Linked DNA regions of Homo sapiens: regions 2, 3 and 4 are each linked to region 1. The links are contacts of gene promoters, found by promoter capture Hi-C in blood cells and fetal thymus (Javierre and others, 2016). All regions are on one chromosome and are shown on one strand. The core of a region is centred on a gene start or on the middle of the fragment in contact, and the rest is flanking DNA. Distances in the headings are between cores, read along the strand shown. Region 1 holds the start of ACAT1 (acetyl-CoA acetyltransferase 1). Region 2 overlaps DDX10 (DEAD-box helicase 10). Region 3 overlaps DDX10 (DEAD-box helicase 10). Region 4 has its middle 31 kb from the start of DDX10.

The links. Contacts are between HindIII fragments. The CHiCAGO score rates a contact against its expected background, and 5 or more counts as called.
Region 2: a contact is called between a fragment that was not itself captured here and the fragment with the promoter of ACAT1 in region 1, in 3 of 17 cell types (total B cells, total CD8 T cells and activated CD4 T cells). The highest score is 7.8, in total B cells.
Region 3: a fragment that was not itself captured here is called in contact with the fragment with the promoter of ACAT1 in region 1 in 4 of 17 cell types (naive CD8 T cells, naive B cells, total CD4 T cells and 1 more); the score reaches 5.9 in naive CD8 T cells.
Region 4: a fragment that was not itself captured here is called in contact with the fragment with the promoter of ACAT1 in region 1 in 13 of 17 cell types (naive CD4 T cells, naive CD8 T cells, megakaryocytes and 10 more); the score reaches 10.3 in naive CD4 T cells.

Annotation. Positions count from the first base shown.
Region 1 is chr11:108,120,317-108,123,972 of GRCh38, reverse strand. It overlaps ACAT1 (acetyl-CoA acetyltransferase 1), which reads right to left and starts at 2,406. Exons shown (of 12, transcript NM_000019.4): 1 at 2,295-2,406. The coding sequence starts at 2,366. RefSeq lists silencers at 2,195-2,604, 2,206-2,744. The HindIII fragment of the contact is 9,706 bases long and covers 2,235-3,656 here.
Region 2 is chr11:108,732,258-108,735,913 of GRCh38, reverse strand. All of the region lies in intron 13 of DDX10 (DEAD-box helicase 10), which reads right to left. All of the region lies in intron 2 of LOC124902750 (a long non-coding RNA gene), which reads left to right. Among named protein-coding and RNA genes, the nearest start is that of DDX10, 69 kb to the right of the region's middle. RefSeq lists an enhancer at 2,023-2,142. The HindIII fragment of the contact is 631 bases long and covers 1,517-2,147 here.
Region 3 is chr11:108,699,993-108,703,648 of GRCh38, reverse strand. All of the region lies in intron 9 of DDX10 (DEAD-box helicase 10), which reads right to left. All of the region lies in intron 2 of LOC124902750 (a long non-coding RNA gene), which reads left to right. Among named protein-coding and RNA genes, the nearest start is that of DDX10, 37 kb to the right of the region's middle. The HindIII fragment of the contact is 1,749 bases long and covers 932-2,680 here.
Region 4 is chr11:108,631,798-108,635,453 of GRCh38, reverse strand. No RefSeq gene overlaps it. Among named protein-coding and RNA genes, the nearest start is that of DDX10, 31 kb to the left of the region's middle. The HindIII fragment of the contact is 2,184 bases long and covers 661-2,844 here.

The sequences.
Region 1 (3,656 bases), core at 1,157-3,656:
AGCAAATAAGCCCAAGACTGGCACAATACAGGAATTTTTTTTTAAGTCTGAGTATTAAAAGAAGCTGAATAAAACTGGATCAAAACACAAAACAGTTTCAAGAAGGGAGTGGTCAATAGTGTCAAATATAGGATAAAGGTCAAGAAGAAAAAACTTGGGCTGAGCACAATGGCTCACACCTGTAATCCCAGCACTTTGGCAGGCCAGGAGTTCAAGACCAGCCTGGCCAACAGAACCAGACCCCGTGTCTACAAAAACTAAAATTAAAATAGATTTAAAAAAATAATTAAAAAACAAAGAAAAAGGAAATCACTGTATTTTTCAGCTTCAGTGGCAAAGAAATTTAACTGCAGAGAGTTAAGGAGAAATAGATGCAGAATACATGGGAGGTAATGAGTAAAGACCACTCCTTTGACCAGAGAGAGAAAAGTGATTAGAGCTAGAAAGGCAATGTGCTCCAATAAAGTCCATAAAGATTTGTTGACCATAAAAGAGACCTGGTAAGCAAAGGGAAAAGAGCCAATGTAATGAGAGGTCAAATTCCATTCTACAAAATAGCACAGAAAACTGGAAATCCTGTTTATAGTTCAGTAAATGACCATTTAATTCAAGTGTCCAATACAACTGCTTCCTAGAGTTCAGTAATATGAATGTCACATATCATACATTACAGCATGTACAGGCTTATTTTTTTCATGAGGAGTATTTGTGTTTCATTTTAAGATCTTTTTTTTTAAGACGGAGTCTCACTCTGTTGCCCAGGCTGGAGTGCAGTGGCATGATCTCAGCTCACTGCAACCTTCCCCTCCTCCCGGGTTCAAGCGATTCTCCTGCCTCAGCCTCCCAAGTAGCTGGGATTACAGGCGCCTGCCACCACACCCAGCTAATTTTTGTGTGTGTGTGTATTTTTAATAGAGGTGGGGCTTCACCACGTTGGCCAGGCTGGTCTTGAACTCTTGACCTCAAATGATCTACCCACCCCGGCCTCCCAAAGTGCTGGGATTACTGGCATAAGCCACCTCAACCAACCTGATTGTAAGATCTTAATTAAACCATAAATTAAGAAGGTTCTGAACTTTTTTTTTTTACATCTCTAGAGTACCTAGTTCACCTATGTCACCTAGTCAATACTGACTGAAACCCAAGATAACCTAATTACTTTCTTGTGATTTCTTCACTCATCCCATGAGACTAACAAATAGGCTAAAAACTCATCTTCCCTGGAAACCTACGCCTTGTGACTTTTCTATTATCTCAGTCACCCAGGATCAATTTTAGACTCTTTCTTTTCCCTTGGCTTCGCACCCTCACTCCCTAATTGTCAAGTCCTAGACTGGTTCTTTTACAATCTCTTGCAAAGCTCCTACCGCCAGCACCCTTGTGCAAGTAATGTTATTCTACGCCCAGACGTAAGAACTAGAGTGACCTACCATTGCAACAAAAACAAACATATCAACAATCCCTACTTAACTAGGGTCAAGTCCATACTCACAACATAACTGGATCTCCAAGCTTATTGCCCCCATCGACCTAGAAAACTCAAGCTTCACCAACCACACCCTGAAGGTCTCTACCTATTCCTGAGGCTTTGCCTGACAATCTGTGGTGCGTACTCCCTTGCTTACGCATGTGGAGAATAAATTCTTTGAGACTCTGCCCCTGCTGTGTTCCCTAAACACAACGGTCAGAAGAGCGACAGCCCTTGGAACGCCCTCAGTATGTGAGCTTTGCTCATATGTCAAGTATAATTTATTGTATTATCTGAGTAGTCATTTGTTTTCCCTGATAAATTTCAGGCTGCTCCAAAAAACATCTGTTATGATCACATGGTGCCCTCTCCCCTTGTATGCCCAATGATTATCTATTGTATTAAAAAAGAAAAGGAACCTCTCCTGACAATAACGCACACAAATATGTTTTAAAGAAAATCTCGGGAGCAGCTGCACAGGCCTGCAAAGAGACTCTCCCCGATCCCACCGCTCAGGCCGGGCCAGCGCCAATCCTGGCGGTCCTGCCCGCCCAGACACGTGCCCTTGTTTGACACACCAGTAACGCTCATTAAGATGATTACGCCGAGACCTTGGAAGTAGAAACGCGCTGTAAAAATAGGCGAGTCCCTGGGTGTTATCGGAGCACTTAGGCGGTTTTTGGACCAGAACCCGTCGCGTGACTGTCCTGGGGCCTAAGCCGCGCGCCCGGGCCGCGGGAGCCGCAACGGCCGCGGGCTGGAAGCTTCCGAGGCGGGGACTCCTCGCATCCCGGGTCTGAGTGCTGTGGGGACGAACCCCGCTCACCTGCACCAGCCTCCGGAGCAGGGGGCTGCGGCTGCGGGCGCCGCTGCGCAGAAGTGCCGCCAGCACAGCCATGGTCGCAGAGGGCTGAGTATCGGCTCCACAGGCGTAGACTAGCGGCCTCCTCCCCAACCCCGCACCCCTAGCGGCCCGGCGCGGGCACCGCCCATCCCGCTTCCTCCAATAGTCGCCTCTCAGTCGGCGGCGATTGGCCGGCAGCCAAGGGCGGGGCGGAGCCTGGCGCTGGGACACCGCAGCCTGGGCCAGGAAAGGTTGACGAGTGAAGGACGTGGATGGAGACACTGGCGCTGGGGTCAACGAGCACCTGACACGCTGCTGGCTCCCGTGTCCACCAAGTCTAACCTGCCGGGGCCGGTGGTTTATGTGTAATCCGAGATTTTTCGATTTACTGAGCATGTTTCCCTTAGGCCTACCCAGCACAAACTCATGAAAATATTTTAGGATTTTTTTTTTTTTTTTTGAGACAAGGTCTCACTCTGTCACCCAAGCTGGAGTGCAGTGACGTGACCACAGCTCACTGTAATCTCGACCATCAGGGCTCAAGCGATCCTCCCTCCCCAGCCATCCCAGTAGCTGAGACTACAGGCGAAAGCCTCCACAACCAGATAATTTTTGTATTTTTTGTGGAGACGGGGTTTCACCATGTTGGCCAGACTGGTCTTGAACTCCTGGACTCAAGTGAGCCTCCCTCCTCGGCCTCCCAAAGTGCTGGGATTACAGGCGCAGGCGACCACGCCCAGCAAATTGTTGTATTTTTTTTTTTTTGTAGAGACTAGGTCTCCCTATGTTGCCTAGGCTGGTTGCTGACTCCTGGGCTCAAGCAGACGGCCAGACTCAGCCTCTCAAAGTGCTGGGATTACAGGCGTGAGCCATCACACCCAGCCGTGAAAATATTTTGAAGCAATCAAATTCCAGGCTCAGTCCAGATACAAATATGGGTAAAAAGGCCTCAGGTGATTCCAGTCCCCAACCTTCAACCACTCCAGCTGAGACCCCAGACATCATGGAGCAGAGACAAGCCATACCCACCATGCTGTCTGAATTCATGGTCCACAGAAACGAGAGAAAACAAATGGTTGTTATTTTAGGCCATTATGTTTTGGAGTATTTTTTTTTTTTAAGATAGGGTCTCGCTCTTGTCACCCAGTCTGGAGTACAGTGGTGCAATCATATCTCACTGCAGCCTCAAACTCCTGGTCTCAGGGGATCCTCCTGTCTCTGCCTCCCAAGTAGCTAGGGGATCCTCCTGTCTCTGCTTCCCAAGTAGCTACGTAGCTAGGACTACAGGCATGCTCCACCATGCTAATTTTTTTAATTTTTATTTTATATAGAGAAGGGGTCTTG
Region 2 (3,656 bases), core at 583-3,082, 610 kb before region 1:
TTAATATGCAGACATCCCTGTTCCCACTTAATTTACTGAAGTGCCACTGCTCTAACCAATCAACCTGCTAGTGCAAGGTTCAAAGAAGGTCTGAATTATCTTCACATTCCCCCTAGAGTGCCTAGCTCTCAGTGTTCAATAAACCAACTGGCAGCTTACACATATGCTCAGAGAACCAGTAAAGCTGGAATACTTTTTTTTTTTAATGTTCTTGAAATAATTTATTTCAACAAAAGCAGTGAAGTAGCCATCATGGAGAAAATAACTTCAGGACTTTCTTACTATTTTCAAGTTTCATACTGTTTTCATTTCAAATTACCTATGGGGGAGGAGGAACAATAATATTTTCAATGCTTAAAACCTCTAAAGTTCATGATCCAGCAACAACAGAAGAGTGCCTTATACACCCTCCATGGTGACCACCTCTGATCATTCTATCTGAAATTGCAGCATGCCACCCACCTTCCCTGAATTCTATATCCCCCTTACACTGCTTCATCTTGCCCCTACCATAGCACACATATTCATTTTTTGTCCATCCCACCCATTAATGCACAGGGAATACTGTTGGTTTTGCTAACAGCTCTCAATGCCTAGCACACAGCAGGTGTTCAAATATTTGCTGAATAAATTTTTCTAAAAACTTCATGAAGTCTTCACTTAATAAGCCGGCATTTCACCTAAAATGTACACTTTCATGGTAAAGAACAAAGCTTCGCATCAAAGCAAAAGTGATTTAATTCTAACTGTCACCAACAGATGGCACTAGCCTCAGATGTTGCCTTGGACTTGAAACCGTGTTTCAAAATATGCATTGAAAAGAACAAAGTCAAAACAAAAATTTGCTTGGACAATTTAAAAGTGTTGAAAAGAAATGTGAAAGTTGAATCCAGTGCCATCACAAAGACAGTCCTCCCATTAACAAGTTCAGGTACAGATACACACACTGCTTAGAGACTTAAAAAGTGGTCTTATGAACAGCATTTCTGGAAACTAATCTGCCATATTAGCAGTGTTGTACAATTATATTTGTTAGAGCCATATAAACAAGCACTTGTTTATGAATTTGAAAACTCCTTATTTCTAATCATATAACAAGTTCAAAGGGCAATTCACATGACCTTCAAGAACAGCCTGTCCTATTTCACATTTCTTTCATTACCTGTGTAACTACCTTAAAATAAAGATAAATACGGCCTGTAAAAGTAGCTGTTTAAACTTCAACCACAAAAGTAGATTTAAAAATTCAGTAGTTAGCAGATGTTATAAATATTGAATATTGTATAAAAGAAGGAGATAAAGGAAAACGACTCAATATTTGATATAATGATTCAGCATGTTACAGAATAAACATCATGCCAAAACCAGCTTTAAGCTTTCCACTGAAAATTTACATCCTCAGGAAGTCATCTGCATACCAAACTCAAATAGGAAAAAAAATACATAAAGCAACTCAATATATGCATCTAAGCTTCATGTTACACAATAACAACTCCTTTTGAATTGGAACAAAGCTTAGATTACAAAAAAAGAATTAAGCACAGGATGCCAAAAAACAGAAAAGACACCTATAAGACAAATGAGCATATATACCAAACTATTTCAGCTGGCAACATCTGAGATCATGCTACCATTGTTTCACTTCATGGTAGCAAAAATTCGGAGTACAGTAGTCTTGACTTTAGAGTTCTTCCTTCTGTTTAAGTCAACTGAACATTACATAAGGCCCCTGAACACAAATCACCAGGTATGGAAGAGATAAAAATTAAGAGACATGTGGCTACATTATGAAATGTCAAGAAAAAGAAAAAAATACTAGCAAAATAGACCATTGGAATCCAGAGGTCAGTGGGTTGAAGAAGTAAGGGATGGCTTCAAAGAAGAGACAAGATAAGCACTGCATCTTGAAAGATGTGAAATGCTGGAGTGGGAAGAAAATAATCCAGGAAGGAATCCTTCACTGTTTAAGTGGAAACTGGGAAGAATGGTCTCGCAGGACAATAGGATAGGGGCTAGCTTACAAAACCCAACTGCAAGGGTGAACTTAAGGGTAGCATGGAAGGTAAACCACTTGAAAAAAAATACTAATTTGACCAAGGTTCACAGGAAGATGACTCAGAAGAACAACGAGAACCAATTATGAAGCTTATCCCCCCGAGCCAAGAATGAGGTAATAAGAATCTGGGGGCAGAATGGCAGTGTAAGTGGGAAGTGAAAATGGAACACTAAAAGCCACCACTAAATGTAGAAATGACGGGAATCAAAGCAAGCACAATCATACCGAGGCAAGTCAGAGGGGCCTAAGTACAGACTCCAGTGCTAGCGCTTCACTAACTATGCAACATTAGGCAAGGAAGTAAGTGAACCTGTCAAAGCCTGTGTCTGAACTTGTAACATGACAACAACACTACACAAGGCTGTGGTAAGAATTTAAATAAGTGAGATATGATAGTCAAAGTGCATGGTAAGTTATAAAAAAATTGATAGATGTTAATCATTTTCCAGTACTTATTTTACAAATACTTAGTCCAAGTTCCTAAAAGTCACTAAGTACCTAACACAGTCCCTGGCATCCGTTAGGTAACTGCTGCTGAAAGGAGGGAAAAAGAGAGAAAGAGAAAAAGTGAAGAGACAAGAGGCAGAAACATCCTAGCTCCCACATAGGAGAATCTTGATTTGGAACTTGGAATCTTTTTATAAGAGTATACTTATAAGCTTCAAAGTTAGCTAATCTGTGTTTTAACACCAACAGTGAGTTCTTACAGTACTAAAAAAAGAAAAAGCTACTAAAAAAAAAAAAAAAAGTAGGACTAAATCAATGTAAACAGGATCTGGAATCAACTCTAAGGTACAATGAATAATCTATGGGTATCATTCAAATCTTAATTAAAACTGACCTATGTTTACTTTTAAGAAAGCTTTAAAAGGACATTTGTTGAGCTAAAATGGAATCTACCCAGTCTCATTTCTAAAAAGGTTTAAACTGAAAAAGAAAAGAAAGCATATGCTTAGAGATTTCATTCTCACATTTAAGGAAATAAGTGTTCCAAAAATAAATTTTAATTTAATCATTTTAATTGTATGTTCATGCTCTTATCTAACACTGTCTCCCTGGAGGTCAACTTTCTGAACACCCAACAAGACAATTAGCCAAAACAAGGTTCTTCCCTATGGTGGGAGGTCAACCAGCCATCTCTTACTGCCTTTGTGCCTGATCACTACACCTGCGCTCTCTCCTGCACATGTCTTATTGCTTCATCACTCGTGGCACTTCTCCACTGCTAAGAAAATCTTGTTGTCCTTCACTGCATCGATCTCGTCAAACAGAAAAGGATTGTGACAAGGCAGCATTCCAGAAGGCCTTGCTTGCACCTGGCACTCAGTACCTCTCGTCTCCATTTACGCCGAAGTCTAAAGGCAAACATTCATTTTATACTCCAAGTGTGCGCACACAATGAGTAGCCCAAAATTATTTACAATACTGTCAATTACACTGACATTACCCAATTACAGAAAGCAAACTACACACAAATAATGGTAGGCACGACAGCAGAGAAAGAAAATGTGACTTAGCATCACAAATAGGTTTAACTGCTAACTTCACCACTGTGACCTTGGACAAGTCACTTAAAAGCCTTCCTTTCCTCCTCCGAAAT
Region 3 (3,656 bases), core at 557-3,056, 580 kb before region 1:
CTTCAAAAGATCTACACTTTAGGCCAAGCGCGGTGGCTCAGGCCTGTAATCCCAGCACTTTGGGAGGCCGAGGCAGGTGGATCATGAGGTCAAGAGATCGAGACCATCCTGGCCAACATGGTGAAACCCTGTCTCTACTAAAAATACAAAACTTAGCTGGGAGTGGTGGCACACGGCTGTAGTCCCAGCTACTCGAGAGGCCAAGGCAGGAGAATTGTTTGCACCTGGGAGGCAGAGGTTGCAGTGAGCAGAGATCGCGCCACTGCACTCCAGCCTGGAGACAGAGTGAGACTCCACCTCAAAAAAAAAGATCTACACTTTAAAATTCTATATTTAGACAGATTTGTTTTCAAAACATATTTATTTCAAATCGATAAATTATATTTATCATGTACAACATGATATCTTAGAGTATACACATTGTGTCTTAGTATACACACATTGTGGAATAGTTAAGTCTAGCTAATTAAAATATGCATTACCTCACAGAGTTATCATTTTTGTGGTGAGAACATTTAACATCCACTCTCAGCATTTTTCAAGAATACAATACAGTATTATTAACTAGTCACCATGATGAACTATTTTAACAGAGTCTAGCCGCCCGATAACAAGCATCTGAAACAAAATTTCATTTTTGCCATCAATATCAATACTATATTTAATTTATGCAGCTCTTCCAAATTTATGAAAAACATTTTTTGTATTAATATATAAACTTGCAGATCTTAAAAGCAAGCAACCAGTAGGAAGTAGCAATACAAAATAGTATTTCTGAGAGCCCAAGAGGTTGGCCTAAAATCAGCTGGTTACTAATATCAGAGACTTTAAACCTCTAAATCCACCACTTTTTCAGTTATACCAGAATTCCCTCCAGAAACAAGAATACTCAACAGATTGGTCATGATTGTCTAGCTGATATCAGAAAGCTTATCTCCACATCCTGCAGCTCACTAGTATTTCTAGTTAAAATAGGAATCCAGTCCATTGGCTTGGGTGTACCAGTTAATTCTTCCACTGAAATAACCTTCAAACAAACTAGAGCCAGAGGCAGGAAAAAAGCCCTGCCATTCTAGCAATAATTTGCCTTCTACCACTCAAATTCAGATTCTCCAACCCATCAACTCCATTCTAGTTGGGTCTTTAATTGTCCCTTAAACTTTGCTCATTCATCCTTCCCACTATTGTCCTACCATGGTCTGTGATACGCTATTCACAACTGCCTAGCCACCCTCAGTTCTCTTAGCCTGGTTCTCCATGTTACAAGTTAGGTTACAAAAAGTTTATTTAGAACAATCCCATTTTTGTAACTAGAAAAAATATATGCAGACATACACGAAAAAAACATTTCTAAGTGGTGGATTTTAGGTGATTTTAATTGTTTTGTCATTATTGTCTAGAATCTGTACAGTTAGTAAGCATTATTTTTGTACTACAAGTTATTAAAAATAAGTTTTTTAAAAAAACTATGTTTTTAAGACCTATATCTTTTGTTTCACTCTTACCTTATTTAACATACATCCTAATACTACCAATATCAGTATATGTCCTTATCTTATTAAATTTGAGGGCATGTGTCATGTGTCATGTGTCCCTAAAACATGCACAACAAATATTTGGTGAGTGAACACTAGAAGCTGTTTCAGCAGATAAAACTCCAAACTTGGCCAGGCGCAGTGGTTCACGCCTGTAACCCCAGCACTTTGGGATCCAGGCGGGTGGATCACCTGAGGTCAGGAGTTTGAGACCAGTCTGGCCAACATGGCAAAACCCCGTCTCTGCTAAAAGTACAAAAATTAGCCAGGTATGGTGGCGCACCCTGTAGTTCCAACTACTCAGGAGGCTGAGACAAGAGAATCACTTGAACCCGGGAGGCAGAGGTTGCAGTGAGCCAAGATCGCGCCACTGCACTCCACTCTGGGCGACAGAGTCACAGACACTCAGTCACAAAAAAAAAAAAAAAAAAAAAAAAAGAGAAGAAGAAGAAAGAAAAAACACCAGATTTAGAGTCAAAAGAACTGGGTTCTAGTCCTGTTGTACTATTAGCTATTAGCTGTATAACTTTAGATAAAATAAATCACTATTTACTACATTTTCTTATTTCTACATTATACAATTGACTGATTTATGTCCCTTTAGGATCTAAAACTCTACAACTCTGACTACTGATATGCTAGTCACTGCTCACAATACAATAATCAAGAAGTGGAGAAAGGGAGACATTTGTTGGTTACGCTCTACTATCGCACAGTCCTCTCTTTTTCCCGCCCTGTATCTCCTTCTATTCTCCCTATACCTCAGCCTTACCTATGACAACCATCCCCAAGATTTCATGTCACTGGGGGAGAACAGTGCAGTCTGTTATGCAGGTGCAGAAAGACAGCCATAAGGGATCTGAGTCCAACTGTTCTGTTCCTCCTGCACAACATGGTACAAAGGAGAGCTTATTCCAAGAAAAAGGGTATCTCTGACTTATGGAATGTCTGACGATTCTATACTAGATTTAAAAAAGGAAAAAAGAACAGGTTTGGAAATATTCTGGGGAAAAGAAAGTCATCTGCACCTTAAGATCTCAAATAACAAACAGGTATACCATGTCAGGCCCAACAGTGACAAATGAAGTTCACTGTAAGTAATTAGAGAGAAACCAAGCTGGCTAATACGTATTGCATGGAAAGCTTCTAGCACTGACTAAGAACAAGGATTTATGGGGTTCACAGAGAAAGGGTAGAAATCATTAAATTCTATCAACTTTGTCCCCTGAAAAGAATTAAAAAAAAAAAAGGTAAATTGTAACACATTAAGAATAAAAAGAAACCGCAAATCAAAGTGGTACTGCTACCTAAAATTATACTTCCAGGAAATAAGAGTTAGATACAATTAACCCCATTTTACCAGAGAAGAAACTGAGGCTTAGAGAAGTTAAAGACTTGTCCAAGGGTACACGGTCATTAGTGACAAAGTCCAATTCAAACCTAAGATTCCTGACTTTCTAAAAGCAGTGATGGAACAACTACAGGATGTCTATCTCTCCTAGTCCAAAGAAAGAAAATGCATATACTAGTTCGTCTTCATGACCACAAATGTCAACAAATTTGAAGACATCTACCTTTCTTCTCCCAGTAACTGGCTCTCATGCATTCTAGAAGCCCTGCATGGGAGCTGCAGGTCTGCGCTATTAGATGTAATCCATTAGATGTAAACAGCTGGATCAGGGCACACTGGCAAGAATGAGTTCTAGAGTCAGAAAGATCTAAGCATAAATCCCAGGCCTGGTACTTACTAAACTGAGAAATCATCGACATAATCTACCTCAAAGTCTCTGAGAAAGAGTTTCCTAATATGAGAACCTCTTTCATGAGTTGTTCTATGGGCTAAATGAGTTTATTCATACAAATATTTATTGAGTTTGGGAAGCAAAAGGCTAAACCACAGTCCATTCGTTCTTTGTGTGGTACAGGGGTGGGAGGTAGGGAAGAGGATGCCCTGCGCTCCCTCCACCCCAATAAAAGTGATATGGTCAAATCTCCTAGAAAACATATTAATGACAGATCTCCAGGGAAACAAACATGGTATTTGCTAGGTGAGAGTCCTCACCTATGAGAGGCTTTTAATAGGATGCACCATGGTTGTTCACAATTTATGGATTTGAAAGT
Region 4 (3,656 bases), core at 503-3,002, 510 kb before region 1:
GAGATACCAGTGGTTAGATCTCCCAGGGCCACTGTGGTCAAGAATCCTCATTTCCAACTCTGTTCTCCAGGTGGACAAGGAAGTAGGAGGGAGTGGAAACCAGTCTATCCATCAAGGCAAGTTGAATTAAGCACACTCATCCCTATGTTTGGCAAAACTCTGAGCAACACCAATAGAATGTGCTTGAGAACTATGAGATGGTTTAATTTAGGAGAGGTATCCAAGAAACAAACTATTGACTGGTTTCTTCAAGAAATATCAGTGGATCTTGAAATGCTGCTTGTCAGCATTCCATTCACATGCCTTCTTCTGGCAGGAAAATGTAGAAACAGAATTAGAGCTGCTAATCATTTCTGACTGGAGATGGAAGAAAGGAGTACAGGAGAAATCACTTATAATAAAAAGTCCATGATGCGCTAGAACTTGACAACTTACGTAGTTCAGAATAGGCATGAACCAAGTTCCCATGGACATATGAGCATTAAAAAAAACACACACACAGATAATGAGCAATGGTGGTTTTTGAAGTATATTGTTTCTTCTATGTGCAATTTCTATACTGGATTTGAATTACTGAAGCTTAACTTTGATAGCGTGTTATGAGTAAGGCTAGGAAAAAGGAAGCTTGTTAAAATATCTGCAAAAAAGATGGAACAAGCTTCTTGGACAAAACAATAGAAATGAGAGGCTCTAAAACAGGTCTAATGGGTGAAAGAAAGACAGAACAGAAAGCAATACCAGACAGGAGAATAGCTAAAGTAAAGCCTGGGTCAACTCACCAATAAGATCAAGTCAACAGGAAAATGTCAGCACTTTGATTGGCTGGGATGTAAGTTTGGAGGGAGACTTACAATAGTATCCATTTTTGTGAGCTGTGTTGTGAAGAAAGTTGAAGTATCAATAACCTAGTTAAATGACTAACAATTAATGATAAAATATGTGGATGTAAGCCAAGATTCCTAAAATATGGATTAGCCACATGGCATCACCCTCTCCAGGCAATCCCGTGAGGCTTTCCTGGGGGCTGGAACACATTGGCAGAAAACTATAACAGGAGAAGAGAGAGCTATTAGTACAGGGACAACAGCCTATCCAAAGATCTGGTGGCTCTGGAAGGTGTGGCTCTGGGAGAGTGGACTTCCTAGTTTTTAATGGAAAGGACCATTCAACCCATAAGAAAAAGATTTGTCCTCTTTATCATGCATACAATTGGGTCTATTCTTGGAACTAGAAGCATAAAGCATACTTCTTGATTATTTACTCTCATTAAATCCTTCCCAAGTCCGACAGCCATATAGAAAATTATTGCATTTTGAATTTCACTTTTTTTTTTTTTTGAAACAGGTTCTCACTCTGTCACCCAGGCTGGAGTGCAGTGGCATGATCGTAGCTCACTGCAGCCTTGGCCTCCCGGGCTCAAGCAATCCTCCCACCTCAGCCTCTGGAGTAGCCCAGTCCCTGAGTAGCTGGGACTACAGGTGCATTCCACCACACCTGGCTAATTTTTGTGTTTTTTGTGGAGATGGGGTTTTGCCATGTTGCCCAGGCTGGTCTTAAACTCCTGAGCTCAAGCAATCCACCCTCCTCAGCCTCCCAAAGTGCTGGGATTACAGGCTGGGCCACCACACCTGGCCTGAATTTCAATTTTTTTTTTTTTTTGAGGCGGAGTCTCGCGCTGTCACCCAGGTTGGGGTGCAGTGACGCGATCTCGGCTTACTGCAAGCTCCGCCTCCTGGGTTCACGTGATTCTCCTGCCTCAGCCTCCCAAGTAGCTGGGACTACAGGCGCCCGCCACCCCGCCTGGCTAATTTTTTTTTGTATTTTTAGTAGAGACGGGGTTTCACCATGTTAGCCAGGATGGTCTCGATCTCCTGACCTCGTGATCCGCAAGCCTTGGCCTCCCAAAGTGCTGGGATTGCAGGCTTGAGCCACTGCTGAATTTCAATTTTAACTTTGTATTTATTGAGCAACTACTATATGCCAGATTTGTCCTACACACTGGGAATATAAAACTACAAAACAAAATCTCTGTCCACAAGGAGTTTGGTCTATAGGTTGAAAACTGCATTAAATAATTTTAAAACTATGTATTAAGGAATAAGCACAAGGGAACATAGAGGAGGCAAATCTAAATTAGACTTGGAGGTTGATTATCAGAGTAGGTCATGATAGAGCTGAATCTTAAAGTAGGAGTTATCCTCCAAAATAAGTAACAAAAAGAAGAAAAGACTAAGGAAACAGCATGTTCAAAACCATGGTAACAAGAAAGAAGGTGGTGGAGGAATTCTACTTCTTGCTATAATGAAGTAGCCTGAACATATCAACCACTTCAACTTGAAAACAACCAGGAAAGTTGGGAGAGGGAGGATGAATATAGATAGATATAAATATAGGACAGCCTCCAAAATAGTGAGATCTATTTGAGGGGCTAAGATAAAAGCGAAAAGAGCAGCTCATTGATGTGAGCTCATTATTATAGGTGCCATTATTTCCCTTGGGGCATCTGCTGATTTCAGCTTTTCAGGAGAGAGGCTGAGAAGCTGGGCGGAAGGCTGCTACTAAGAGACAGAGAAACTAGCAGAGCTTCAGCAATTTCATAAGGCTGAAGAGATAAAAACTGGAGTTCAGGCTTGCCAAAGCAGTCAGGACTTTAAGGGACCAACATCTCAGAGAAAAGGAAGAAGTGTGAAGAAGTGATCTTGACACTCAGCAGGAGCATCCCTTAAGGATACCAGTGACTACCTTGCAATACGCCAAGAAACTAAGCTAGAAAAAACAAAACAAAACAAAACAAAAACCCAAAAACCAAAAAAAAAAAAAAAAAAAAAAACCAGCTAAAAAGCTTCCAGCTGCCTGGGGGTAACTCTGAAGATTTCTGAAAGGGCCAGCATGCTGAGTTTGAATGCTAAACAGCCAGTAACCATACAGATGGGGACAAAAGTAGCAAAGGAAAATGGCCAACCATAACACAGAACTATTCTAATGGAAAAATACTGCCACCAATGCCTGGCATTTTGACACTCATGATACAAAGACCACATGCCAGAAAATACCCCACAGCTGTTACCAGAAGAACCAGATGTTTTTGACATTGTTTCAATAAGAACCAAACTCCTTGCCCACAGTCACCTACCTCCTATTTCATGGGGGTGCATCTGGGAAAGGGAATGCACCCACATGTGGGTATGTGGGTGGATATGATATCATATGTGGATGTCTTGCTTCAGGGAAATCTGAGAAATATTATATTAGCTTTCTAACCCTGTAATATCCAAATGCAAACCAGAAGGGGATTGGCATGGATGCTGAGTAAGCTAAATTCCAGTACATTTCCAAAGCTCCAAACCATTAGAGGGCATAAAAGGAGTTCAAGAAAAATCCAATCGAAAAAATAGAATGCAGGAAATAAGGGAGGAAAGGCTTATAATAAGAAAGGTAGTTTTCATTTTCCAGCATCATGGTCGAATACATGCCTAGAATAACCCTCCCATTGAAAACCAATAAAAAATAAGATATACAAAATATTTTTTTTCAAAATGTACCTCAAAACAAAATGAGGGAAATCTCCAAAAGCCAAAAATAGATTGAAAGCAGGTATCCAGAAAGATAAGTTAGTACTGATTTTTTTTTTTTAAAAAAAGAACACACTGAGAGCA